Linked DNA regions of Homo sapiens: regions 2, 3, 4, 5 and 6 are each linked to region 1. The links are contacts of gene promoters, found by promoter capture Hi-C in blood cells and fetal thymus (Javierre and others, 2016). All regions are on one chromosome and are shown on one strand. Each heading gives the region's core, a stretch centred on a gene start or on the middle of the fragment in contact. The rest is flanking DNA. Distances are from core to core; before and after follow the strand shown.

What was found. The method cuts DNA at HindIII sites, captures the fragments that hold promoters and counts their contacts. A CHiCAGO score of 5 or more calls a contact.
Region 2: a fragment that was not itself captured here is called in contact with the fragment with the promoter of PKD1L1 in region 1 in 2 of 17 cell types (naive B cells and total B cells); the score reaches 6.2 in naive B cells.
Region 3: a fragment that was not itself captured here is called in contact with the fragment with the promoter of PKD1L1 in region 1 in 2 of 17 cell types (total B cells and naive B cells); the score reaches 8.5 in total B cells.
Region 4: a fragment that was not itself captured here is called in contact with the fragment with the promoter of PKD1L1 in region 1 in 2 of 17 cell types (total B cells and naive B cells); the score reaches 12.2 in total B cells.
Region 5: a fragment that was not itself captured here is called in contact with the fragment with the promoter of PKD1L1 in region 1 in 2 of 17 cell types (naive B cells and total B cells); the score reaches 7.8 in naive B cells.
Region 6: a contact is called between a fragment that was not itself captured here and the fragment with the promoter of PKD1L1 in region 1, in 1 of 17 cell types (total B cells). The highest score is 6.4, in total B cells.

Annotation. Positions count from the first base shown.
Region 1 is chr7:47,946,131-47,950,423 of GRCh38, forward strand. It overlaps PKD1L1 (polycystin 1 like 1, transient receptor potential channel interacting), which reads right to left and starts at 2,336. Exons shown (of 57, transcript NM_138295.5): 1 at 2,267-2,336. The coding sequence starts at 2,310. The HindIII fragment of the contact is 5,981 bases long and covers 2,231-4,293 here.
Region 2 is chr7:47,194,257-47,198,549 of GRCh38, forward strand. No RefSeq gene overlaps it. Among named protein-coding and RNA genes, the nearest start is that of SNORD151, 270 kb to the right of the region's middle. The HindIII fragment of the contact is 198 bases long and covers 2,429-2,626 here.
Region 3 is chr7:47,232,998-47,237,290 of GRCh38, forward strand. No RefSeq gene overlaps it. Among named protein-coding and RNA genes, the nearest start is that of SNORD151, 230 kb to the right of the region's middle. The HindIII fragment of the contact is 1,358 bases long and covers 1,148-2,505 here.
Region 4 is chr7:47,280,649-47,284,941 of GRCh38, forward strand. It overlaps TNS3 (tensin 3), which reads right to left. Exons shown (of 31, transcript NM_022748.12): 28 at 3,049-3,217. Among named protein-coding and RNA genes, the nearest start is that of SNORD151, 180 kb to the right of the region's middle. The HindIII fragment of the contact is 9,538 bases long and covers 1-4,293 here.
Region 5 is chr7:47,316,709-47,321,001 of GRCh38, forward strand. All of the region lies in intron 20 of TNS3 (tensin 3), which reads right to left. Among named protein-coding and RNA genes, the nearest start is that of SNORD151, 150 kb to the right of the region's middle. The HindIII fragment of the contact is 192 bases long and covers 1,890-2,081 here.
Region 6 is chr7:47,427,933-47,432,225 of GRCh38, forward strand. It overlaps TNS3 (tensin 3), which reads right to left. Exons shown (of 31, transcript NM_022748.12): 9 at 380-444. Among named protein-coding and RNA genes, the nearest start is that of SNORD151, 35 kb to the right of the region's middle. The HindIII fragment of the contact is 8,256 bases long and covers 1-4,293 here.

The DNA.
Region 1 (4,293 bases), core at 1,086-3,585:
TACCTGGCTTCCTCTTAGTTAACTGTGACTGTCGGGGAACAGGATGATACTGATGGCTCAAACACAGTCTCTGAGGCATCATGTGCCTCAAGGGAACTAGTCGAGCCATTTGTTTGAATTACATGACAGATCTCTTAGAATCCCTTAAGAGTGAGTGTTTTTCGGGGCCTGTCAGGGGCTGGGGGGCAAGGGGAGGGAGAGCATTAGGACAAATACCTACCACACAAACACACACCACACACTCACACCACACCACACTCACACCACACAAACACACCACACAGCATCACACACAATATACACACACCACACAGCACATACCCACCCACCACACACACATCGCACACACCACACACCACGCACCACACAAACACACCATACACACAAACACCACACACACACCAACACATTACACACACATCACACAGCACACACCATGTATCACACACACACCATACCCCACTCATACCATACCACACATACACCACACACTACACACAGACCACACACCACACCACCCACACACATGTCCTATACCACACACACACACACAGACACTACAGGCCTAACTCCATGAAATGAGGGCTACAGGAGAGTCAAGAAACCTCTTCTGTTTCTATGAACAAGATCAGTCACTGTCTTGCTTTAGGTGACTCAGGAAACCCCAAAAGGCTATGACTTCAGAAATGGGGCCTCGACACCAATTACAATGGCTAGTGCGTGCATGAACTAGTTGGTCTGCAAGTACAAGATGTATAAATATACAGGGGAAAAAACATCAAGTCAGCGACTTCCGCTCCTCAGCTTTTCTTTCCTTTCTAAGGGCAAAGGGGTAATTCCTTGCAATTCCCTGACTGATAAGAGTGAAGGTCAAATTGGGCCAACATCAAGGCTCTGGGAGTCTGCAGGAGCATGGGCATTTGGAATAAAAGAAACATGAGGTAACCAGAAAAAATAAGGGAAAAAATTGTAGCCAAAATCAGACAATGCTTGGCAGCAGTGAGTGACATAAGGCAAAGAAATTTCCAAGCATGAATGTGACCAACCCCGTCAACACGTGCAGCCTCATTTTCTCATCCTGGTTTGCTTTGGGTTTCTTTGATAAAATGATGGTGATGGCACAAAGACAGTAAGCTAACAAAGGCAGAAATGCTGACAGCAAGCATTCATCAAGGATACTGATTTTTATAACGACCCTCTGGAGTTTACAGATGTGACAACAGGGGTACTCAGATTTTCAGGATGAGAAATCTGGGGGTGAGGAGGTAAAGTGACCTGCAGTGGCGGGGTACCCCACTGGGCAAGATCTGCAGGCACAGGCTCCCATCATGCCAGGCCAGGGGACAGCGGTGACCCACCTGGGTCCTTACCACATCCCACAGGCAGGTCACCTTGCTGGCCTCACGCCCAGGAAAGGGGGCATGGAGGTTTGCACCATGTCACACTGCCATGAGACAGTCAACAGCAGAGCACACAGGCTGCCCAGCCTCAACAACACATGGGTGCTGGCGCGCACAGAGCATGGGGAAGAGGGTTTAGAAATAAGACCCATGGAGGCTGGGTGCGGTGGCTTATGCCTGTAATCCCAGTACTTTGGGAGGCCAAGGCGGGCAGATCACAAGGTCAGGAGATCGAGACCATCCTGGCTAACACAGTGAAACCCCGTCTCTACTAAAAATACAAAAAATTAGTCGGGCGTGGTGGTGGGCGCCTGTGGTCCCAGCTACTTGGGAGGCTGAGGCAGGATAAATGGCATGAACCCAGGAGGCAGAGCTTGCAGTGAGCCAAGATCGCACCTCTGCACTCGAGCCTGGGCAACAGAGAGAGACTCCGTCTCAAAAAAAAAGAAATAAGACCCCTGGGCCAAGACCCCATGATCTCTTCCTGTGCCAGGTTTCTCCTGGTCTCCATGCAAGGGACCTAGCAGACAAGCAGATAGCTTAACTTTGTCTACTACCAGGCAGCAGAAAGTCCTCGAACTTGGAAGGTATCCTGCATTTGCAGGAAGAGCAATCAGCACTTCTCATGGCTGAAGGCATCCGCTTGGAGGAGTCTTCTCAAAAGCCTTCAGGAAAAAACTCCATTCTCAACACCAACTCCAACCTCTGAACTGACCCCGCCGGCCAAATGCACCCTCCTGGTACAGGGCCTCCACTCGTGCCAGAGTGAGCCCACATCCTAGAGGTGATGACTTTTGAAAGAAAATTTCTGAATGCATACTTTAAAATCAAGCTTACCAAACCCTCTGAGAACAGTGATAACTCACCTTTCCTGGTCATCAGAAATGTTCTGGGCTGCCTCCTCGGCCATGTCCTGTGCAAGCTGGTCACAAGTATGACAGTCAGCAGACCAGCTTCTTCCTACATCCTCTGGAAGACAAAGAAATAGAGCTTAATGCTTCCAGCTTCTGTACTTGTGACCTCTTATCAGGACACACATCAAACACAGAGGGAAAAATCCAAACTCCAGTAACATTTTCCCAAGCAGAAACAGCTTTTGTTTTCCTAACACTGTCAGACAAATTCCTTCCTAAGAAGTGTGCTTTTGACAGACGTGGTGGCTCATGTCTGTAATCCCAGCAATTTGGGAGGCCAAGGTGGGTGGATCACTTGAGGCCAGAAGTTTGAGACCAGCCTGGCCAATATGGTGAAACCCCGTCTCTACTAAAAATACAAAAATAGCCAAGTGTGGTGGCACACATCTGTAATCCCAGTTACCCAGGAGGCTCAGGCGAGAGAATTGCTTGAACCTAGGAGGTGGAGGTTGCAGTGAGACGAGATTGCACCACTGTGCAATAGAGTGAGACTCTGCCTCAAAAACAAAATGAAACAAAACAAAACAAAACAAAAGTGTGTTTTAGGTAGGGATCTTTGTGGCTGCCTGAAACAGATCACTACTCAAGGGAGAGACTGTACATGGAAGCTGAGAGAAGTCTGAGAATAAAAAGCTGTAACTGTTGGCTGGGCGCGGTGGCTCACGCCTATAATCCCAACACTTTGGGAGGTCGAGGTGGGCGGATCACGAGGTCAGGAGCTCGAGACCAGCCTGGCCAGCATAGTGAAACCCCGTCTCTACTAAAAATACAAAAATTAGCCAGGCATGGTGGCACGCACCTGTAGTCCCAGCTACTCGGGAGGCTGAGGCAGGAGAATTGCTCGAAACCGAGAGGCGGAGGTTGCAGTGAGCCGAGATCGTGCCACCACACTCCAGCCTGGGCAACAGAGCGAGGCTCTGTCTCAAAAAAAAAAAAAAAAAAAAAAAGCTGTAACTGTCCACAACTGCACTGGGGAACAGGATACCTTCCACAAGAGCAGAAGAGCATTCCTAAGGAAGGCTGGCAAGGCACACACTAGGCGCACTCTGTCTTACGGCAGAACCTAGGAATGATCTGGTTCCGAACCTCCTGCACCTCTCCTTGTTTGCAACTGGCGGGTCAGACTGAGTTCTCTCCATTACGAAACATTTTCTCTTATATTTTTAAAGCACTTGTTAGTTGTCTTAGTTCTTTATACCAACATTTAAACCTTCAGAGATTTTAGAAAACTTAATGTTTTACTCAGAACACTAGATATTTTTTCTCTCCACTCTGAAGAGAGTGATACCAAGAAGAGTGGGAACGTTTTCAGGCACAAGCTCTTTCTCAGATGGGAACACAGACCCCTTGAACAATGATGAACCAAGCTACGGGTGTCCGGCCTTGGATCCTGTGTTTTCTGGAACTTTGCTGCCAATGAGGTGAGTAACCAGAGCCCTGTGGTGGGTTAAGGGGCCTGCTGTTGACCTAACACACCTGTCTCCTGGGGCCTGCTGCCACCTCTGCTCTTCTCACACTGCCTTGTCAGTGCCTCTGGCTTTGTCCCCACTGTGCTTGTTGTGAGTAAATCTCAGATTTGGGGGAAATGCATACTTTCCAATTTCATTAGCAATACACTTTCAAATGCGCCTGTGACCAAGAAAAGGATAAACTGCAAACTGCAGTTTGTAAACGAACAAAATCCCTTCTTTCTGAAGCCCCTGTGATTTGCTCTGACACCTTCCTGTCAAATCTAAACAGAGTCCACTGGGTAAAGACACCTGTGCAACCCTGCCTGCTGGGCTGGCATCCATACCCACACGCACACCTGGATGCTCTGACCTTGCTGCTGCCTGTTCCTTCCTTGTGGGGCTGGACATCCTGAGAACAGGGCCTACATTTAAAGTTTGTGATGTTTTTGAAGCCAGCAGTGCTAACCAAAGATGCCAGGAAATGAGGAGGAGCAAAGAAAGTGACATAATTGAGGGAAGAAATATGCC
Region 2 (4,293 bases), core at 1,278-3,777, 750 kb before region 1:
ATAGGAGTTAAAACACAAAAAGTACCAAAATAGGGGGAAATGTTTAGAAAATGAAAGACCAAAGGAGATTCAGAAAGTGTTATGGGTTTAATCATGTCTCCTAAAAGATATTGAAGTCCTAACCCCCCACTACCTCAGAATGGGGCCTTATTTGGAAATAGGGATTTTGCAGATGATCAAGTTAAAATGAGGTCATTAGGGTGAGGCCCTAACTGGATAGGCCTGGTGTCCTTATAAAAAGGGAACATTTACACACAGAGTCACACACAGGGGAAGATAATGTGAAGCATGGCGGTAAGGTGGTTCTCTGCAAGCCAAGAAGCCCCCGGGGCTACCAGAAGCTGGAAGAGCAAGGATGGATCCTTCCCCTGCAGATTTCAAAGGGAGCTTGGCCCTGTTGAGACCTTGATCTCAGACTTCAGTCTCCAGAACTGTGAGACAATAAATTTCTGTTGTCCCAAACCAACCGGTTTGGCAGTACTTTGTTCCTGCAGTCTTGGGAGATGAATACAGATGGTGGAGCACAAGCCAGAGGCTGCAGACTCAGAGGGCAGCAGCTAGGAGGTACTTGGCCAAGACCCTCATTCTCAGCACTGGCGTGACAGAGGAGGGATGGATGGTCACTATAGGGCCATGCAGGAGCTGAACGGGCAGTCACAGCTTAGGCAGCGTCAGCCAACAGCTGCTATTCGGGAAGGAGCCTAACAATGTGTATTTCTATATGATATATGATTTTTGTTAAAATGTGGTAATACATTCAAAAATTGCAAATCACAGAACAACATGGTTGAAGCCAAAAAGGAACTTATCTGTGGGTTTGGAGCAGTTTATGGGTTGGACTTATCTTATGGGTGAAAATACTTTCCATTTGGTTAGACCACTGCATTCAGGTTTCTTTTATATGCAGCCAAACCTAACCCTAACTGATGCTATCTGTTGGTCTCAATGTGGCTTAAAAAGAGAATTAGACACCATTATCCTATTGGCTGGCTCTGATGTGGGAAAAACTCATGGTTTTGAAACAGAAAGATGTGGCCTTCGTCATCTGACACATGGAAAAAATTACATTTCCGTGAAGGTGGACAAAATAAGACGGAAATCTAAAACTTATTGGCACAGCGTGTAGGGTGTGTACGAGGGTTTGCTAGTCTCTCAGGATATATCAGTGTCCTTCCCCACACGTGCATTTCTTAAATCAAAATGATACTTTTCTTTCCACGGATTTAAAACATTATAGGTAGGGTGGTAAAGTGCTGTGCGGAACAGAGGTGAACTCACAGACCTTACGAAGTCACAAAATTGACTCTCAAGGCATGTTACATTCAGAGTGGCTGAGCAGCCTAGAAGACTGCACATTCCGGCTAAACCAGAGGGGCTATATCCCATTCCTATAAGCGTTACTGTCCACAAAAGCTAACATTAAATTTGTAGTTTCTTTTTACTCATGTGCGTAGAAAAGTGGGAGCTGTGTTGGCAGGTAGGTTCTCAAGTGTTGGATGAACAGACACAGCATGTTCCTGTAATCTTCATTTTGACCACTAGGGAAGCCTGGAAGCTTCCTGGGAAGGATGGGTCCAAGCAGATGCTCCATTATGTCTGAAGGATTTCAGGCACTCGGCTGAGCAGCCACAACGGCAGTGGCCGTGCCTTCCAAAGGCCTGGGACCGGTTCTGGGTTGGCACAGGCCCAAGGATTCCCAGACCCCAGGCCCCTTGCTGTCAGTGATGTCCAGGGGTCCTGACAGAAGAGCCCACTGAATGTCAACTGTAGGAATTAATTCCATAGACATGATTCAATTATCATCAATCATCTGTTTATTGTGTTTCTTCATTTGTTAATCTTTTTAAGTCCTGATTTAAAAAAAAAAAAACTGGTATTGTTAATAAGAAGAAACTCAAAAAACGGGTCCCAGTTTGTTTATACTTATTGATCTACACTGTCCGTGGGCACACCAACCACCGAGAAACTCCAGAATAGGTGAATTCCTGTTAATATTTCAACATGCCTCATAGGAATTTTATCACAGGAATGGACCTCAGGGAGTGTAGTCCCATTTTTGCTAAGGTCAAGGTGCCAGAGAATACTTGATTTCAAATCTCAGTCTTAGTAAGGTACTCATGCTTCAAGACACAGTTGAAATGTACCCTTCCATGCAGTCTGCCATGCTTACTAACTTGTGTTCAGAGCACTCAATCCCCCATGCCCAGAATCTGTGATCACTGGGTGTGCTGGGCACCTTAAAATAAGCTTTCATGATCTTCAGTAATTTCACTAGCAGATGACAGCCAAAAGCCTATGAGAGTTCAATGAGGCCCCTGAAATAAGTCTAATTCAAAATCAAAAGCTTTCCTGGAAGTTCTGTAAGCTGCATCACTTCAGTTTCTACACAGGCACAAACAGACAAACAGGAGGGAGAGGCAGCCTGCAAAGCTTTCTTTGCTTATTATACCACATGTCACTCATGTTAGACTTTGAACAACTATTTATAATAGATTTTAAAACACACCTGTATTACAGGGCCAGTTACACCATACTGTAATTTATTTTGCATGTCTAAGCCCCCTTTCAAAGAATCAGTGAAACTGTAACGGGGAGAAACTATGTCTGAGGCACATGTTCCTCCCCAAGCTTCAATCACAGAACTTGGCATAAAATAGACCTTCACAGCATAAATGATCTACTGCAATGGATGGCTAAAAATAGAGGTGGGGAGGGAATACAAGCACAATTTTTAGGAAATTAATTTTCAAAAAGTCACTGGAGTAGAGGAAGTCATTTACAATGTGTCACTCCACGTGAAAGCCCCTTGCATCCCCTTCTCTCTGTTCTCATTTTTTGTCCCTGCTCTCATTCACGTCTTCTCTTCCCTCCTGTCTTGGGGAGTTCAGGATCCTCATGTTCTAGGCTAGTCCCACTCACCTCTGCAGTTGATATTATTTCCTCCTACATCCCTTCGACAGTTATTTGACAAATCTCTTGGTGAGACCTTCTACAAAAATTGAGTGAGCTGGGTGGTATAATGGACTAAATTGTGTTCCCCCAAAATTCCTATGGTGAAGCCCTAACCCCTAATATAACTATATTTGGAGATAAGGTCTTTATGGAGGTAAATAAGGTTAAATGAGGTCCTAAGAGTGGGTCCCTAACCTGCTAGGACTGGTGGCCTTATAAGAATAGGAAGAGAGAAAAAGAGTAGGGTACTCTCTCCACCACCCCTGTATGCACAGAGAAGAGGCCATGTCAGGACACAGCAAGAAGGCAGCCGTCTACAAGCCAGGAAGTGAGCCCTCACCAGAAACCAACGATGGCACCTTTATCTTGTCATCTGAACTCCAGAACTGTGAAAAGATAAATTTCTGTTGCTTAAGCCACCCAGCCTATGATACTATGTTATGGCAGCCCAAGCCAACTAGGACAGATGGGGAGTGTGGGAAGTAAGTAAAGTGTTTGGAATACCTCCAGTGGGGGTAAAGAAAGAAATTATATATCCACTGAAGAGAAGGATTTCTTTGCAGTTCTTGAGGGCCCTGTTGGCTAGGATCACACACATCCTTCTGATTTCTCCCAAGTCTGTGACCACTTCCTTCTAGTGTCCTTAGCTAGCAACTCTCCTTCTGCTGTAAAATGTTAGGCTTCCCCTGTGGCCTTCCTGTCTCCCTTTACATAGGCTACACATGCTCCCTTAGTTGCCTTGTCACCTCCCTAGCATCAGCCACCACCACGTGTTAATGACCAACCTCCTGTGTCTTCTGTACAGCCTTCCTTCCCCAACTCCCAAATAGCATTTCCAACTCCTTACTAAGAGTCCCCCAGGTATTGAAAATTCAACATATCTAAAAGAAAACACATCATCTCTATCCCCTTAGACTGATCGTCCACTCAGCCCTCAGCACTTCCATGCTGCTGCTTGACCAGACAAAAAGCACTAGATCAATCCCTGGGCATCCCTGCCTTTGTTTATCATGTTTCTTTAACATCTTTGGTCCAGCCCAATTTACTCTTCTGACTGGATGATTGTGATACAGTCATCCTTTCTAGTCATATTCTTGGCTTCAATTCATTCCTCACATGACAGCTGCAATGCTCTTCTGATTACACTGCCCCACTGCTTAGTGCAGTTTAAGAGCCCAGGTTAAAGTCCAAACTGCCTGCCAGACCCTTCAGATCTGTCCCTGATTCATCTGCAGCCTCATCCCTCACCATTCCCCAGTGCTCACCTCCCAGTGTGTAGCATAAACTCACTTTGCTCATGGCTTCTCACATTCTACGCTTCTGCCTAACTGGCCCCCACCT
Region 3 (4,293 bases), core at 577-3,076, 710 kb before region 1:
TGCCGTGTTGATTTCAGACTTCTATCGGCCAGAATCCTGAGAGAATACATTTCTGTTGCTTTGTTAAGGCAGTCCCAGCAAACTAACACAAGTATGTGTTGAAATTCTGAAATGCAATATATGATATAATATAAATTTAGAGCTTAATTAGTAAGTGTGGTGCCCACACCAGTGTCTCATGTTCATATACTATCTTCCCTTCGTGGGACACTACTGACATCTCCTGGTGCATGTCATCCCACTGAAAATGGTTTGAAAAACATCCATGCTCTTCCCACAGTAAACTCGGAAACGTGTCCATACAATACCCATAGAAGGCCTTCTTGTATTCTAGTGTACAGACTTGAAGTTTGAAACCAGAAAAACCTGGTTTTAATTTTGCCTTTGCCACATACTGTTTAGATAACTTTGGGCTGGGTCATACCCTATGCCTGTCTGCTCATCTGTAAAATGGGACTAATAACAACCACTCAACAGAACTCTTCTAAGAAACAATTAAATGATCTAAAGTATGTAAAGACTCTACACAGTAATGGAGACATTTGGAAAAGAGCTGCCACTCTTATGTGGCCTTCAGATTCTCTTGCTTTTTCTCAAATGTTTCTAGTTAGAACAGGGTTCAGCAAACCTTTTTTGTAAAGGATGAGAGCTTTGTGGACCATACAGTCTCTATAGGAACTATTTAATTCTGCCACTGAGGTGCAAAAGCAGCCACAGACAAGATGTAAGTGAATGGGCGTAACTGTGCCCCAGAAAACTTTATTTAACAAAATAGTGGATTGGATTGGGCCTGATGCTGATCCCTGAGTTAGAAGATGTATTAAATATGTTTGGCTATAAGGACTTTAAATTCAACTAGAAATATAGATTATGCATGTTTTACTGAGACTTAGCAAGACCTACGCTGATACTCTCGTGTGCTCATTTTCAAGTACTTTCAATGTGGAACAGGAAGCTGAGTAGATTTAAAACATCAATTGCAGAAATCAAAGAAATATTCAAAATACAACAAAGAATGCATCTTGATTTGAAAAGTAAAATAGGCTTACATGAGAAGTGAACAATTAAAAACATTCAAGTTCCCATTAACACAAATAATATTAGACCAGAAAATTCCCACCTTTCCATCTATCTGCCCTTGTAAGTAAGCTTCACATGGCTTCTGATCAGGTGATGTTGTGTTCAGCAAACTGAACCAGCCTTGCAAGTGAAAAGTATTTAAAGGAATCACAGCATGAACTCGTTCTGTGCCAAAGTAAGCCACAATTTAGATGGTGTTTGCTTTTGAACAGTCAATTTTTCTTTCCAGTTTTCTTTCTGTATTGGGTGCATTGATGTTTAGAATTCTTTGTTACTTGGAGTTTCTGACAATCAAAGTGTTGACTATTTTCACTAGTTTAAACATTTCATATATTTCTAATAAAGTAAAAAAGACTAATAAGGAAACACATTAGGAGGAAAGATTGTTGGGAATATTTTTGGACATTTGTACCCTGACAAATATAATGAGAATTATGTGATGGAATTGGAGGGTAAAAAGGAGAAGAAATGATGGATGTAGCTGCTATAGTCAACTGAAATGCAATCTTTTTTCCTCTAAGAACCACAGTGTGCAAAGGCAATGGGCTTTGAACTGTGCTACTTCTTAGTGCTTGGCTTGGTCCTCAGTTTCCTCCCCAATAGGTTGAAGAGAAGAAGACAATCTATCTCAAAAATATTCCAACTGCGTTCATCCTAATTGCCTCTTATCTAAGTAATAGTGAAAGCTGTTCAAGTTTCTATTGGCCTCTCAACTCTCCTGGCCCATTCTCATAGCCCTCCTCACTAGACTGTAAGTCCATGTGTTCGTTAGCTTCGGCTACTATAACAAAATAACACAGACTGAGCAGCTTGAGCAACAGAAATTTATTTTTCATACAGTTCTGGAGGCTGCAATCCAAGATTTGGGGGCCAGTGCAGTCAGGTTCTAGTGAGGGCTCTCTTTCTAAATGGCTGCCTTCATCCTTTGTCCTCACATGGCATTTCCTCTGTGCTAATGTGGAGGAAGAGAGATGGAAAGCTCTCTGGCATCTCTTTTTATAATATGAATCCTATCAGATCAGGGCCCCACCCTTAGGACCTCATTTAACCTGGATTACTTCCTTGGAAACCCCATATCCAAATACAGTTGATCCTTGAGCAAAACGGGTTTGAACAGTGTGAGTCCACTTACACATGGGTTTTCTTTCATCTCTTCTGCCCCTAAGACAGCAAGGCCAACTGCTCCTCTTCCTCTTCTTCCTCCTCCTCAGCCTACTCAATATGAAGATGATAGGGATGATGACTTTATAATGATCCAGTTCCATTTAATGAGTACTAAATATATTTTCTCTTCCTTATGCTTTTCATATAAGATTTTCTTTCCTCTAGCTAACTTCATTGTAAGAATACAGTATGTAATGCATTTAACCATACAAAAAGTGTCTTACTCAACTATGTTATCAGTAAGGCTTCTGGTCAACAGTAAGCTTTTAGTAGTTATGTTTTTGGGAGAGTTAAAAGTTATATGCAAATTTTCAACTGTGCAGTGGTTAGTACGCCTAACCCCCATGCTGTTTGAAGGTCAACTGTGCAGCCATGCTGGGGGTTAGGGCTTCAAGATATGAATTAGGGGTGTGCAGGGAGGGACACAAACATTCAGTTCCTAAGAGTCTATGAGGGTATAAATAGTGTCATCTTCTTTTGCTCACCATTTTGTCCCTAGTGCCTAGTAGAAAATACAGCACTAGATAATTAGTAAGCGCACTGACTAAATAAATACATAGGCAATAATTTTTTTAGATGACCTGTAGATTACACAATTTTGACATTTGTCTGATCTGTTAAAACTGACATGGGAAAAAACCTAAGATATATCTCCTATGTTCAAAACTACTCTGAATTTAAAGCATAGTCTTACTGGCAGACTTACAACTTCCTGTAATACCTCTATGTCCTGTTATGAGCTAAGACATTGTACAGTCTTCAGTGGGAGAAGGGATTTTTCTCTTATAAAAGGCTTAGTCAAATACGTCCTTTTGAGTTATGCTTAAGATACACATAGTTTGCTCCAACTGTGCCAGTATACATTATTCTACGAATAAAGTTTCCCAAATTTTTTTCATGAGGCAGAGAAATCTCGCACTTACCTATATTATTACAATTAGTACTGCAATGACTACTGATTACCAGAAGGCTGGGGGGTGGGCAGGCAGAATGCTCCAATGGCAGTAACCTTAAGGTAAAAAATATCCAAAAATTTGAACCACATTCATGAACAACAAACTGGGTAACTTTGTGTAAGACACTTCACCTCTCCACTTAGGTCCAATATTTTATAAATGCGTTATTTTGTTTATAATATTTGTATTGATGCATGAAATCATTGCACTTATTCTTCTGAGAAAGCTCCAAATAGTGACACAATGACACTGCAGAGAGCAAGGCCATCAAGATATGAGAAATTACTAAAAATCATGCCCTAAGATGGGTGATGATTGAACTGCAGTAATGAAACTCTATCTCCTAACTCTGCTCAATCTATCCAGTGAAATCAGAGGTCAGCTGTACCACAGGAAACACTGAGAAGTCAAGACAAGATCAGTATGGTCATCTGACCTTTGTTCTCTGCTTGAGGGATAAGCTCATCTGGGAGCCCAAAGAACAAAGCAAGAGGTATCAAGGGAGTTGAAGACGTTTATTTTTCCACAAACCAAGCAATTACTGTACCCTGAAGTGTTGAAATTTCATAATAGGCTATATTTGCAGTATTTCCCTCCAGAATAACAAGAGCCAGAACTCCAGAAAGAGAGAAATCTGAACTGATTCCCAGGCTATTTCAATATAGTCAAAGTTTCAATTATCTTCAGTAAATGAGAACTATTCTAGGTACAATATTCCTTTGTGGTCAATCCGATACTGATGCAATTTCTATCATAACATGTGGACAGAAATTTTCCTGGAAGGCTTTCGATCATATCTCCAGATGGATTTATATCCAGGAGGCAATGACCTAAAAACAAGAACTGCATGTACTCATTACAACAGTGGATCTGCTCACTAGAAACAAACAAGGCTGTCAACTGCCTTGAATAAAATGACATTACATACATTTTTTTTAGCCCATACAACGTACCAAGCAACTGCCAGCTGCATCCACCATGTTGTCTAGTTCAATAATGATGATAGCCCAATGAGGTGAAGTCATTATTTTCATTTGATATAGGAAAAAGCACAGGATCAGAGGACATCCCATTGGCTTAGATGTCACTTCCA
Region 4 (4,293 bases), core at 1,141-3,640, 670 kb before region 1:
CACGCCTGTAATCCCAGCACTTTGGGAGGCTGAGGCGGGTTGATCACCTGAGGTCAGGAGTTCAAGACCAGCCTGACCAACATGTGAAACCCCGTCTCTACTAAAAACACAAAAATTAGTCGGGTGTGGTGACATGTGCCTGTAATTCCAGCTACTTGGGAGGTGGAAACAGGAGAATTGCTTGAACCTGGGAGGCAGAGGTTGCAGTGGGCTGAGATCGCTCCACTGCACTCCAGCTTGGGCGACAGAGTGAGATTCCATCTCAAAAAAAAAAAAGCCCTAACAAACTGGAAAAGCTGGTAGGGTGTGAGATGGACACAAGGAAGCACCTCTGGCCCTGCCAGACACTGCTGGCTGCAGGATCGTGGGGAAACCACTAACAGCCTCCAGGCTCCGAGCCTTGGTTTCCTCACCTGTGAAAAGTGGATCATGTTACCAGCCCACCCCTTCCACAGGACAGATGCCCAAGTCAGATGCAGTCACAGGTCTGAGAGCACTGAGTGAACAATAAAGTGCTGTGCAAGGAATATTCCTTAAGGAAGGACTCCACATGGTCACTGATACGACCCCCATAGAGACCTCCTTCCAGGCTCACCTGACAGCCCTTAGTCACTGACATGACCACCTGGGGCATTCTCCTCCGGCTCACCTGCCCAGCCCTTCCTTCCAAGAGTGCTATCCACCCAGTCCACATGGTCCCCAGAGGATGCCCAACTCAACACTCTGCTGTGTCCAGGCTGGGCCAGTCTAGCTGGCTTTGGGGTCACCCCTCTCCTTCTGGGAATGACTCTGCACCGGCACAGAGTAAAGCTCATCTGGAGATGAAGAGAGAGGCCAGGAGATAGGCTAGGGCAGAGGCAGAGCCTGGGTGTGCTTCAATTCAAGGTGACCCTGCAGCCACCTGCAGCCCCTCTCAAACAGGTGCCTTTTAAGGCTGATTGTTGGTGAGAAGATCCCCCTTTTGTCTAGAATTAGCCAGTCTGAACTCAAACGCTATCTCTTACAGTATGAAAGATCTGAACTGATGTGGACATGACCCATCTCCAGGGAATATAAAGAATACAGGGAAACTAAAGAGACACAGAAAAAAGACAACTCTGACAAGGGCACATAGAACAGATCCTGTGAAGAAATAACATATCTTCCAAGGGCAGCAGGGAGGAGGGAACAGTCAACATTGTGAGGGTCCTTAAGGAGCCCAACCCTGACCCTGAGTCTACCATGTCGCCAAGCTATGCCTCCAGACCCTGAGTCCACCATGCAGCCTAGCCATGCCCCTGACCCTGACCCTGACCCTGAGTCCACTAGGCAGTCTAGCCATACTCCTGACTGTAAGCCTGAGTCCACCAAGCAGCCTGGCCATGCCCTGAGCCTGACCCTGAGCCCACCAGGTAGATGATCCATATCCCAAACCCTAAGTCCACCATGTAGCTCCGCTATGCCCCTGACACTGACTCTGAGTCCACCGTGCAGCTGAGCCACACCCAACGGGAACCCTGAGTGAGCCATGTAGCCGAGCCATGCCCCTGACCCTGTGTCCACCATGTAACTGAGCTATGCCTGACACTGACCCTGAGTCCACCATGCAGCTGAGCCATACCCAACTGGGACCCTGGGTGAGCCATGCAGCTGAGCCATGCCCCTGACCCTGAGTCTACCATGCAGATGAGCCATGCCCCGACCCTGAGTCTACCATAAAGCCAAGGCACAACCCTGACTCTGACCCTGAGTCCACCAAACAGCAAAGCTATGCCCCCTGAACCTGACCATGAGTCCACCATACAGCTGAGCTATGTCCCTGACCCTGAGTCCACCGTGAAACTGAGCCTTGCCTGTGACCCTGACCCTGAGAACACAGTGGGGCTGAGCCATGCCCCTGACCCTGAGAACATGGTGGGGTTGAGCCACAACCCTGACCCTGTCCCTGCGTGTGCCACACAGGGCACTTGCTGAGTGCCCTTTTCATTTGAGACACTAAACCTTGAAATAGGTATTTTGGTGCAGGATTGAAATACGAGAGCATCAAGCATTGGGACCCTGCCCAGGGTCATCTACTGGTCAGTGTCAGGGGCACTGAACGGGTCTGACCAGCAAAACCCACGTTCTGCTTTGTGCTCATTTTTTTCAGCAGATGAAGGGTGATGAGCTAAACCTGCCTAAACTCACTTATTCCTGAAGCTACAGAGGGGAAGATCCTGCCTTCAACCTCCCAGGTGGTTTGGGCAGATGAAGAAAATGTCTTGCTTCTAGGGACATGGGCACCACAGAGAGGCATGGGGGCCCTGCTCGGGGAGCATCCTGGGAAAGCAGCCAGGCTGGTCTGAGTGTCCCCTGCCGGCCTGTCTGCTGTGATGGCTGCTGCCATCATGCTGCTGCCACGGTTGATGCCAACGTGCCTCCTCAACCACACAATACAAAATAATTGCATCTGAAATGCTCTGTTCCTAGGCCACAGGCTGCACTCAGGGATGGCATTCTGGAGGGAGGGAGACAGGAACAGCCCTGTGGCTGCTCTGTTCCATGCTTATGCTGGGCATTCAGTAAAGATCCACATGGAGAACATCTGCTCCAGCATAACTGGCTCAGTAACAGCTCAGGCGTAAGTCATTTGAAATTGGCCAACGGAAATAGTACATATCAAGGTCATACGCTCACCTGAAAGGAAATGACCCTCTGTTAAAACAATAGGTTCCAAGATCATTGGACTCTGATCATAGTATCAGAGTGTTTTTAAGGAACTGAGTTAAAAGATTTTTTGCATTTGCAATTATGTGTGTATGTGTGTAATTTTAAAACGCCAAACGTCTTTTTTTATTTTATTTTACTGATTTCTAAGAAAAATAGCCTTGCAAACAAATGCTAAGAGTTCCTATGTGGTTCCCAGGACGTATTTAATGACAGAAAAATACCTAGACAGACCCTGGGTGACTCATGACCTCAAAGACGGCTAATGATTTACCTGGATGACTACTCACACTAGGGAAGAACAAGAGGAACGTGACAGCCCCGCCCCTGCTGGACGGCTCCTGCCTCCCTCTAGGCACTCACTTCCTCTGATTGTCTGTCAGGGTGATGCCCTGGGCTGACACCTTGAAGTGCACAACTGTGGACACAGGTGGAGGCTCCTGGACCAGGGTGATGCTCAGGGCCTTCTGGATCGCCTGGTGGCCGGTGAGGGACTCCATCTCCACAGAGTTCAAGTACCACACATTGCAGGCTGGAAGACACCAAGGGAGACACATGTTAGTTGCAACTATTGGGACAGGTGTGTCCTGTTAACACACAGGCAGTTGCTGATGTGCAGACTGGGTTTATGAACAACTTGCGCATGTGGCCTATGCTGGGTGCATGTAAGGCAGATGGCCTTTGCCCCTAATTCTGAAAACATGAACAGTGAGTGCTCCAAGGATGCACTTACTCCCATGTCAAGGCAGAGAATAAGCGAGTTACTAGAGCAAAGCAGACCCGCCTGGTGTGGCTTTGCCTTCCCACCAGCCAGAGGGAGCTTTCTATTCGCCCTGCAGCAGTATTAAACCCTCGTGTCCCAGGTGGAGCCCAAGGCACCTTCTCTGGTCTCAGGGTGGGTATGGACAACAGTCACATTAATATGAAACCCAACTACTGTTATAGGTAAGGAGCCCAGAGGCCCTTGAGAAACAACCATGAGGGAAGCATGTGTCCTCAAATCCTGGTTGCCAAGAGAAGGAATGGCTTGCAGTGAGCTCAGAGAACAGGCTGGAAAAAGCCAAAAGTGGCCCGGCCTCACCTGTGTCCTGGCTCCCCATGCTGCCAAGGGAGAGCTGTGGGTCTTGTCCCTGACCATCTCCTCTTGGGAGAAGAAAAACAACTGGGCTCCATAACAACCCTTCTTTCCCTTCTAGCCTGTGACCCTGCAGTTCAAGCATAAGTGCACGTGTGACTTTGGGGCATGGGTGAAATTGAGGTGTTCCAAGACATCCAGCCTTAGCCTGAAGCTCATTCACTGAAGTAAACCAGGGCCTCTCCTGCCCAAAGGCTGAGTAGGCTTCCTCCTGAGGAACAGAACTGCCCTCACTCACTTGCCCCTTGTCTACTGTATACATGTCCCTCTATGTGAGCATGTGGGTGTCTTAATTCCGTGGTTAAAGGCCTCTAAAGTTTCACTTAACAGAAAAAGAGTGTTTTCCCACAGTCTACAGCAACACATCTCAGCACTCGGATGCACGGTACGCGCTGGGTAGTGTTGTCTCCCTCGGCCGTGTCCTCCTGGGGTAGGCAGCCCTGGGAAGCAGCTCCATTTTCTCTTTGCCTTTA
Region 5 (4,293 bases), core at 736-3,235, 630 kb before region 1:
TGGAGGTTGCAGTGAGCCAAGATCGTGCCACTGCACTCCAGCCTGGGCAACAGAGCGAGACTCCATCTCAAAAAAAAAAAAAAAAAAAAGTCATTATCCTATAATTCTTTTGTTATTTGTCTATGAACAATCAGGCCATTTAACCAACCTTCTTGAAAGCAAAGAGAAAATGGCAGGCAGCCAGATATAATGAGAATTAATTAGTGACCACCCCAACACTGGAAAAGCATTTTCATGGTTTCCGATGAGAATCAAAGTCCTACAGATACAAACAAACAAACAAAAATGATGAAAAACCCACAAATGGATAAATAAATACTTTCTTGGTGTTGAATCTTTTCTTTTTAAAATCCTGATGTCAACATAATACAAATAATATGAAATTTGTTCTACAGCTTAAGGTCAACTGATTTCAGCAAATATGAGAAATGCTCTCAAAAGGATAAATTGTTTCTGTCTTTTTAAAGGAAGCAAGGTTCTTATTCCCCCAGTGAAGCCAGAATTGCTCCAGCCAGGGCTGAAATGGGAATCCTGTCCACCAAAAGCCGGGTGACCCTTTTATGACATTCTCATCACAATTGGAATTATCCCCTTCAAAAGAGACCATGCCACAGTCTTCCTTTTAAGCAATAACACAAAAGGAAGTAGAAAATGTAGATGCAATAGTTCATTACAGTTGGAGCCCTATTTTCTCTTATTCTTTGAAGATGTCCCATTTATATTCAAGGTTTTGATCAGACTGGAAAGAAAACACATTTACCAGTTTAGTTGGTGTTGTGTAGAGAATTCTAATGTTGAAACAGTGAAAACAGCGTTTTTCTTCATAGTGAGTGTTTCCCAAGCAGTTTTTACACTTGGGATGCACTAAGTGAGGCCAGTTCCTCCAGGGACTCACATAGTCCCTTAGCAACCTACAAGGGATGAGAGTTGTAAAAAAATGTGCTTTGGTTTGAGTTCTCAAGAAAACAAATGACTTCCTTCCTTCTAGACTTTAAAGAAAGATGACACTGAAGTGGAGCTACTGAGGCTGCCTAGAGACCACATCAAGCCTGCAGACAGAGCCAACACACAGCTGAGAAGATCAGGGTCTAGGGAGTCACTGGAAATAAATGTGTGAGAGAGACAGAGAGAGAGACCCACCCGCTGAGTGGCCAAGGAGTCCTCATGAAGCCAAATCTGAGGCCACAGCCACCCACAGCTGCTCAGTGAGTTTCGTTATTTTTCTCAAATTGTGATAAGACATACATAACAAAATTTACCATCTTAGCCATTTTTAAGTGTACAGTGCTGTAGCATCAAGTACATTCACTTTTTCGTACACCAACTATCTCCAGAACTTTATAATCTTACAAAACTATAACTCTTTCCCCATTGAAATAATTTCCTATCCTCCACCCAAGTCCCCACCATCCCACTTTCTGTATGTATGAATTCAATGACTCTAGGGACCTCATGTAAGTGGAATCATACAGAATTTGTCTTCTTGTGACTGACTTACTTCACTGAACACAATGTCCCTGAAGTTCTTCCATGTTGTAGTGCGTGTCAGAACGTCCTTCCTTTTTAAGGCTGAGTAATATTCCACTGCATGCATAGATCACATTTTGTTTATCCATTCAGCTGTCCCTGGACACTCGATAGCTTTCACCCTTTGACTTTGCGAACAGTTACATTTTCTCCTCTCTTGTTCCTTTAGCCAGTTTGAGTTGGGACTGGTTACTTGCAACAGGAAACAGACTCAGTGACACAATGTCCTTGCCTCAAAGCTGCTTCCAGTCCAGTGGGAGTGCAAACAGACAGGAATGCACCAGCACAGGGCAGTCAGGCCAGGGTGAGGGTATGCAAAGCAGCACCAGAAAAGAAAAGAGCCATCTGACCCTCCTCAGGGAAGCTTTCCTTATGCTGAGCCAAAACAAAACAAAAACAAAAACCCACAAACAGAGGAAGTATTGCCCTTCACAAGCAGAGAGAGAACCTGCATAAGAGGCTTTGAGAGCCCTGGGCTGATTATCATGATGGAGAATGGAGGTTACCATAATGTATACACCACGTCCACACAGGAGTGGACAGCGGTCAGAGAAAGCTTCAGGCAGCTCAAGATGATACCGGCGAGGGTCTATGCCAATGAAGAGGCTGTACCTAAGATGCTTGGTTCCAAGTCTTTAGTCCGCAGAATAATTCCAGTCTCATAACTGGACTTGTCCACAGGACAGGAAGTCTTGATGTTTTCTGTTTTCAGGCAGAATTCCCAGAGAATCTGGCTTTCCTTTAGAAACGGCACATGGGACACAGATGACATGTGCTGAACTTTGCCACAGCCCTTCTAAGGAAAGGTCACTTTAGCCTGGTGGCTCAACAGCTGAAGTCCCGAGGAGTCCTGGTCCAGGATCATCATTTTGTCCTACAACCACTGTCTGAGTCCATGTGCACCGCTATATAGGAACAACCGAGGCTGGGCAATTTATTTTAAAAAGAGGTTTATTTGGCTCACGGTTCTGAAGGCTGTAGAAAAAGCATCTGCACCTGGTGAGGGCCTCAGGAAGCTTCCATTGATGTGCACTCTGCACACCCTCACCCTGGCCTAACCACCCCATGCCAGTGCATTCCTGTCTACCTCCACTCCCACTGGACTTGTGAAAGGAAGCTGGCATCACATGGTGAGAGGAAGGCGAGAGAGAGAGAGTGAGAGAGTGATAGAGAGAGAGACAGAGAGAGAGAGAGAGAGGAGGGGAGGTGCCAGGCTCTTTTTGACAATCAGTTCTCGTGTGAACTAACAGTGAGAACTCACTCGTTACCATGAGGACAGCACCAAGCCCTTCATGAAGTATCTGCCCCCATGGAGGGGACAAATATCCAAACTGTATCAATGACTGCACCATGGAAGTCTAAATCACATAAGGCCCAGGGGGAGAAACCTCCCCTGTAATCTCAGAAGTCTCTTACCATGACTTGAAAACCTTATTCTATGTGGCAGATTTCAATGGACCTGAATAGAATCAAAGACACCCTTAAAGGACCTGCCTGTCTAAGAACCCCTGTGGCACTCGGGGCATCTGCATCCCTTATGCCCACCAGCCCATGTGCCAGGGACCACAGGCAGCTAATGGGGGTTTCTCATGTAGTTTCAGAAACTGGAAGACTGCTGCTTTTGAGAGAATATCACTGGTCAGACTCTAACCAGGTCCCTAACCAGGCGTTGCCATCTTCACCCAGTATTTCTAAAGCGTCCTGTGAGCAATGAGGAATGCAACACTGGGAATCCTGTGTTAGGTAAGAATTCGAAACCTCAGCTTCACTTAAACCCTTCACTCAGTTAACAAAAAGATGTACTCTCATTGCAGTAAATATAAACAGAGACTCAGAATGCATTTTATCTTTGTTCAGAAAACATAAGTTATCTTTATAAATTATCACTATTTTACTAATAGTGACTATCTGCGCGGTGCTCAGTGGGCTTACTTGACCCTCAGAACAACTCTTAAAGGTGTGCACTCTCGTCCATCTATACCTGTGAGGAGGCCGAGGCTTCAGCACTTCCCCTCACCTGCACCTGGAGGGAAACACACGCACCACCCAGCTGGAGCAGGACTCAAACATGATTCTTGGGTTTCCCACCTCTAGCTCATTAGCACGAACCTCATTCCTTTTCCTTTTCACTCTGTCCACAGCTCTGTGAGTTAAGAGGAATCCTGGTATTCCACGAGTTGGGAGTATTAGTCAGCTTGGGCTGCTATAAAAAATACCACACAGTGACTGAACCAACAGAAATGTATCCCCTCCCAGTCTAGCAGCTGGAAGTCCAAGATCAAGGCATTGGCAGGGCTGGTTTCTCCCGAGGCTTCTCTCTGCGGTGCACAGATGGCCATCTTCTCCCTGTGTCCTCACATGGTCTTCCCTCTGTGTGTCTGTGTCCTGATCGCCCCCTTCTACAGGGACACAAGTCATGTTGGATGAGGGCTCACCCTAAGGGACCCACTTTCACCAGTCACCACTGTAAAGGCCCTTTCTCCAAACACTCACATCCTGGGGTTCGGGTTAAGGCATCATTCAACATAGGAATGTGCAGGGGGTGGAGGGAGTCACAATTCAGCCTAACACGAATTGTGTGTGGTTTGGGGAGATGCAGCCCCTCTATAAATGGCAGGAGAGTGACATAGGCCCTACTTCAGAGTTCTCAGGGAATCTGCCAAGTTAGGGCATGAAAGGTGTTTACAGCAGGGCCTGGCCCCTGGCAAGCACTCGAAAGATCCATCGCGACGAGGAAGAAATGAAAACTGACATGAGGCATGTGGC
Region 6 (4,293 bases), core at 928-3,427, 520 kb before region 1:
TATATACAAGGTATGAGCTGATTTAGTGAGACCACTCTGTTCTTTTCATAATGGTGACTTTTATCTCTGTTATTTTTTGTTAGAGAATTCTCTATTAAAGAACAAGGGACAGTGGGGTCACTTATTTTTTTAATGCCTCCATGGAAGTACTTAGAATCAATCACACAGTCACCCAACCTGGAAAATGCCACTTTCACAAGTGTAAACGCTTAACTGGAAACTGGGTTTCTAGGCACTGACCAACCCAGCACTGGGGAATGGGAAACACAGGTCAGCCGAGCCCTTGGTATCCAGAACAGCTCCCGCGCAGACAGCCTTCAGCCCCATGCAGGCCCAGCTTTTAGCACCTCAAGACAGCGAGCTGACATCTTCATCCTACCTGGCTGAGACGTTGGTGAAATGCATGTAGGATGATATGACCACTCCTATGCGTCCTTTCCCGCCCTGCAGGAGACAAAAGATCAGCTGATTTTCTCTGAAATCCCACAGCAGAGATGTAATTAGAACAGGAAAAGACTCACTAGTGGACAAAACAATAGAGAGCCTGCTTTGGTGGTAAGGCCAGCATTACCCACAGCCTTCCTGTCTGGGAAAGTCAGTACCCAGTGCAACTGGAGTCTCTGCAACAGGGAACCCGCACGCTGGGTGCAAACAGTAAGAGTGGGTGCTAACTGGAGCAGCTGTAGAAGCCCAGGAGGGCTGACCAACACAGCAGCTGCCTGTCATTTTACCCAATTAGGCTGGAAAAAACTGTGCCAGGAGCTGCAGCAATTAGCATGACTTAATTATCCAGGTCAGACAGAAGTGAACGCCTGCCTGCTCACGGGCTGACAATGATCAGGGCTGCAAACACAGCTCAGCATGATGGGACATAGATTCCAGCTTACTGGCAGCACTGCCGGCACCTGAGCTCCACATACACCGCCGCAGCCCACCCTCATTACACATAAAGGAACCACTGTCCCAGGCAGAAGTTCTGGAAAAGGACTCACTCAAACCATAACCACAGACACCAACAGCCCAGCCCACAGACCAGCAACACCAGCAGGAGAAGCAGAAACTATTGGACAGGCCACCTTCACCCAGGGCCACAGAGTGCCACCTTCTAGAACATACTCTTACAACCTACAACAGCAGATTGCAAACCACAGCCCAGGAGCTACTTCTGCCCATTACCTACTTTCCCACAACTTGTGAGCTAAGAGTTAGTTTTACATTTTCTAACTATTAAGAAAAAATTTTGAAAAGATAAGATTCCATGCCATGTGAAAATGTGTTGAAGTTCAGATTTCAGTGTCCAAACACAAAGTTTGACTAGAACATGGCCACTCCCATCTGTTTACCTACATCCAGGGCTGCTTTCACTCTCACTGCAGGGGTAGGTTTGAGTATTTGCAGCAAGACCACGGGGACTGAAAAGTGTAAAATACAATCTGGCTCTTTTTTTTTTGGAGACGGAGTCTCACGCTCTGTCCCCCAGGCTGGAGTGCAGTGGCACAATCTCGGCTCACTGTAAGCTCCGCCTCCCGGGTTCACGCCATTCTCCTGCCTCAGCCTCCCAAGTAGCTGGGACTACAGGCGCCCGCCACCATACCCAGCTAATTTTTTGTATTTTTAGTAGAGATGGGGTTTCACCATGTTAGCCAGGATGGTCTCGATCTCCTGACCTTGTGATCCACCAGCCTCGGCCTCCCAAAGTGCTGGGACTATGGGACTACAGGCGTGAGCCACCGCACCCGGCCTAATCTGGCTGTTTTTAAAAATATTTGCCAACCCCTGATCTGGAATCATATAAAGCCAAAAAGGCAGGGCCTCTAATATGTAGCTCCCTAACTTCTTGAGAAGAAACTACTGATCAAATTCAAGTCACAATTCTGATAAGCCCAGTCATACATGAAAGTCACCCAGGAGCATCCTTCTCTCTGTCAGTGAAAGTCAAGAGCATGCCTTATAGATACTCAATGCGGGCACTTGATACACTCTTTGCAGCTGAATCCTGGCACGTGCAATTATTAATGGTATGGCTACTAGTATACCTCTTGCATAAAACTATATTTGACAGCAATTCACCTACAAAGAAACAACACCTCAGCCAAAACAGGCACACATGGTGGTGACATTCACCCCATTATCAATCACTTTTGTGGCACTATTTATGGATGTATAAAGCAAGTATTTCTTTTCTTTTCTTTTCTTTTCTTTTTTTTTTTTTTGAGACAGAGTTTCGCTCTTGTTGCCCAGGCTGGAGTGCAATGGAACGATCTTGGCTCACGGCAACCTCCACCTCCCGAGTTCAAGCGATTATCCTGCCTCAGCCTCCCAAGTAGCTGGAATTACAGGCATGCATCACCATGCCCGGCTAATTTTTTGTATTTTTAATAGAGACGGGCTTGCTCCATGTTAGTCAGGCTGATCTCGAACTCCCGATGTCAGGTGATCCCCCCGCCTCGGCCTCCCAAAGTGCTGGGATTACAGGCATGAGCCACTGCACCCGGCCTATAAAGCAAATATTAAAAGATCTGAAGGGACAGATAGAAATACCACAACCGTACGGGACTTCAGTACCCCATTTTCAACAATGGACAGATCACCTAGACAGAAAACCAGTAAGAAAACAGGGTACTCAACCTGCACTTTAGACCAAATAGACCTTACAGACATATACAGAACATTGCATCAGAATACGCATTCTTCTGAAGTGCACACAGAAAGTTCTCCAGCATAGATGGCATGTTAGGCCACAAAACAAACCTTAACGAATTTAAGGAGACTGAAATCATATTCAGTATTTTTTCTTTTTTTTTTTTTAATGGAGTCTCCCTCTGTCATCCAGGTTAGAGTGCAGTGGCATGATCTCAGCTCACTACAACCTCCACCGCCTGGGTTCAAGCGATTCTCGTGCCTCAGCCTCCCGAGTAGCTGGGAATACAGGTGCATGCCACCACACCCAGCTAATTTTTTTGTATTTTTAGTAGAGACGGAGTTTTGCCATGTTGGCCAGGCTGGTCTCGAACTCCTGACCTCAGGTGATCTGCCCGCCTTGGCCTCCCAAAGTGCTGGGATCACAGGCATGAGCCACCGCGCCTGGCCTCAAGTATCATTTCTGACCATAGTGGTATGAAACTAGAAATCAATAACAGGAAGAATCTTGGAAAATTCACAAGTTTATGGAAATAAAACAACATACTCCTAAATAACTACTGGGTCAAAGAAAAAAAGTCAGAAGAGAGATTTAGAAATATCTTGGGAGAAACAAAAATTGAAACACAACACACCAAAACTTATGGGATGCAGCAAAAGCAGTTGTAAGAGGAAGGTTTATGGCAATAAATGCCTATGTTAAAAGACAAAAAACTCTCAAATAAAAAAACCTAATGTCAGGCAGGGCGCGGTGGCTCATGCCTGTAATCCCAGCGCTTTGGGAGGCCGAGGTGGGTGGATCACGAGGTCAGGAGATCAAGACCTTCCTGGCCAACATGGTGAAACCCCATCTCTATTAAAAATACAAAAATTAGCTGGGTGTGGTGGCACGTGCCTGTAATCCCAGCTACTAGGGAGGCTGAGGCAGGAGAATCACTTGAACCTGGGAGTTGGAGGTTGCAGTGAGCCGAGATCACGCCACTGCACTCCAGCCTGGTGACAGAGTGAGACTCCGTCTCAAAAAACAAAACAAAACACAAAACCTAATGTTGTACCTGAAGGAACAAAGAACAAACTAAACCCCAAATTAGCAAAGGAAGGAAAAAACAAAGGTCAGAGCAGAAACAAATAAAGGAGAGACTAGAAAAACAATAGAAAAGATCAACAAAACTAAGGGTTGGGTTTTCTGAAGACTAACAAAATTGACAAATCTTTACCTAGATAAGATAAAAAGAGAAAACTCAAAATCAGAAATGAAAGAGCAGTCATCATAACTGATGCCATTTAAGACACAAAGAAACATAAAAAACTATGAACAAGTACATAGCAATAAATTGGATAACCTGGAACAAACTCATAAATTCCTGGACACATACAACCTACTAAGACTGAATCATGAAGAAACAGAAAATCCGAACAAAACAATAACAAGTAAGGAGATTGAATCAGTAATATAAACTCTCCCACAAAGAAAAGCCCAGGACCTGATCACTTAACTGATGAATTCCATCACCGAAAAAAAGAGAAAACTTCGCTATGGTTTAAATATTAGCCCCCTCCAAAACTCATGTTGAAATTTAATCTCCAATGTGGCAGTATTGAGTGGTGAGGCCTATAAAAGATGATTGGGTCATGAGGAACCTTGCCTTCATG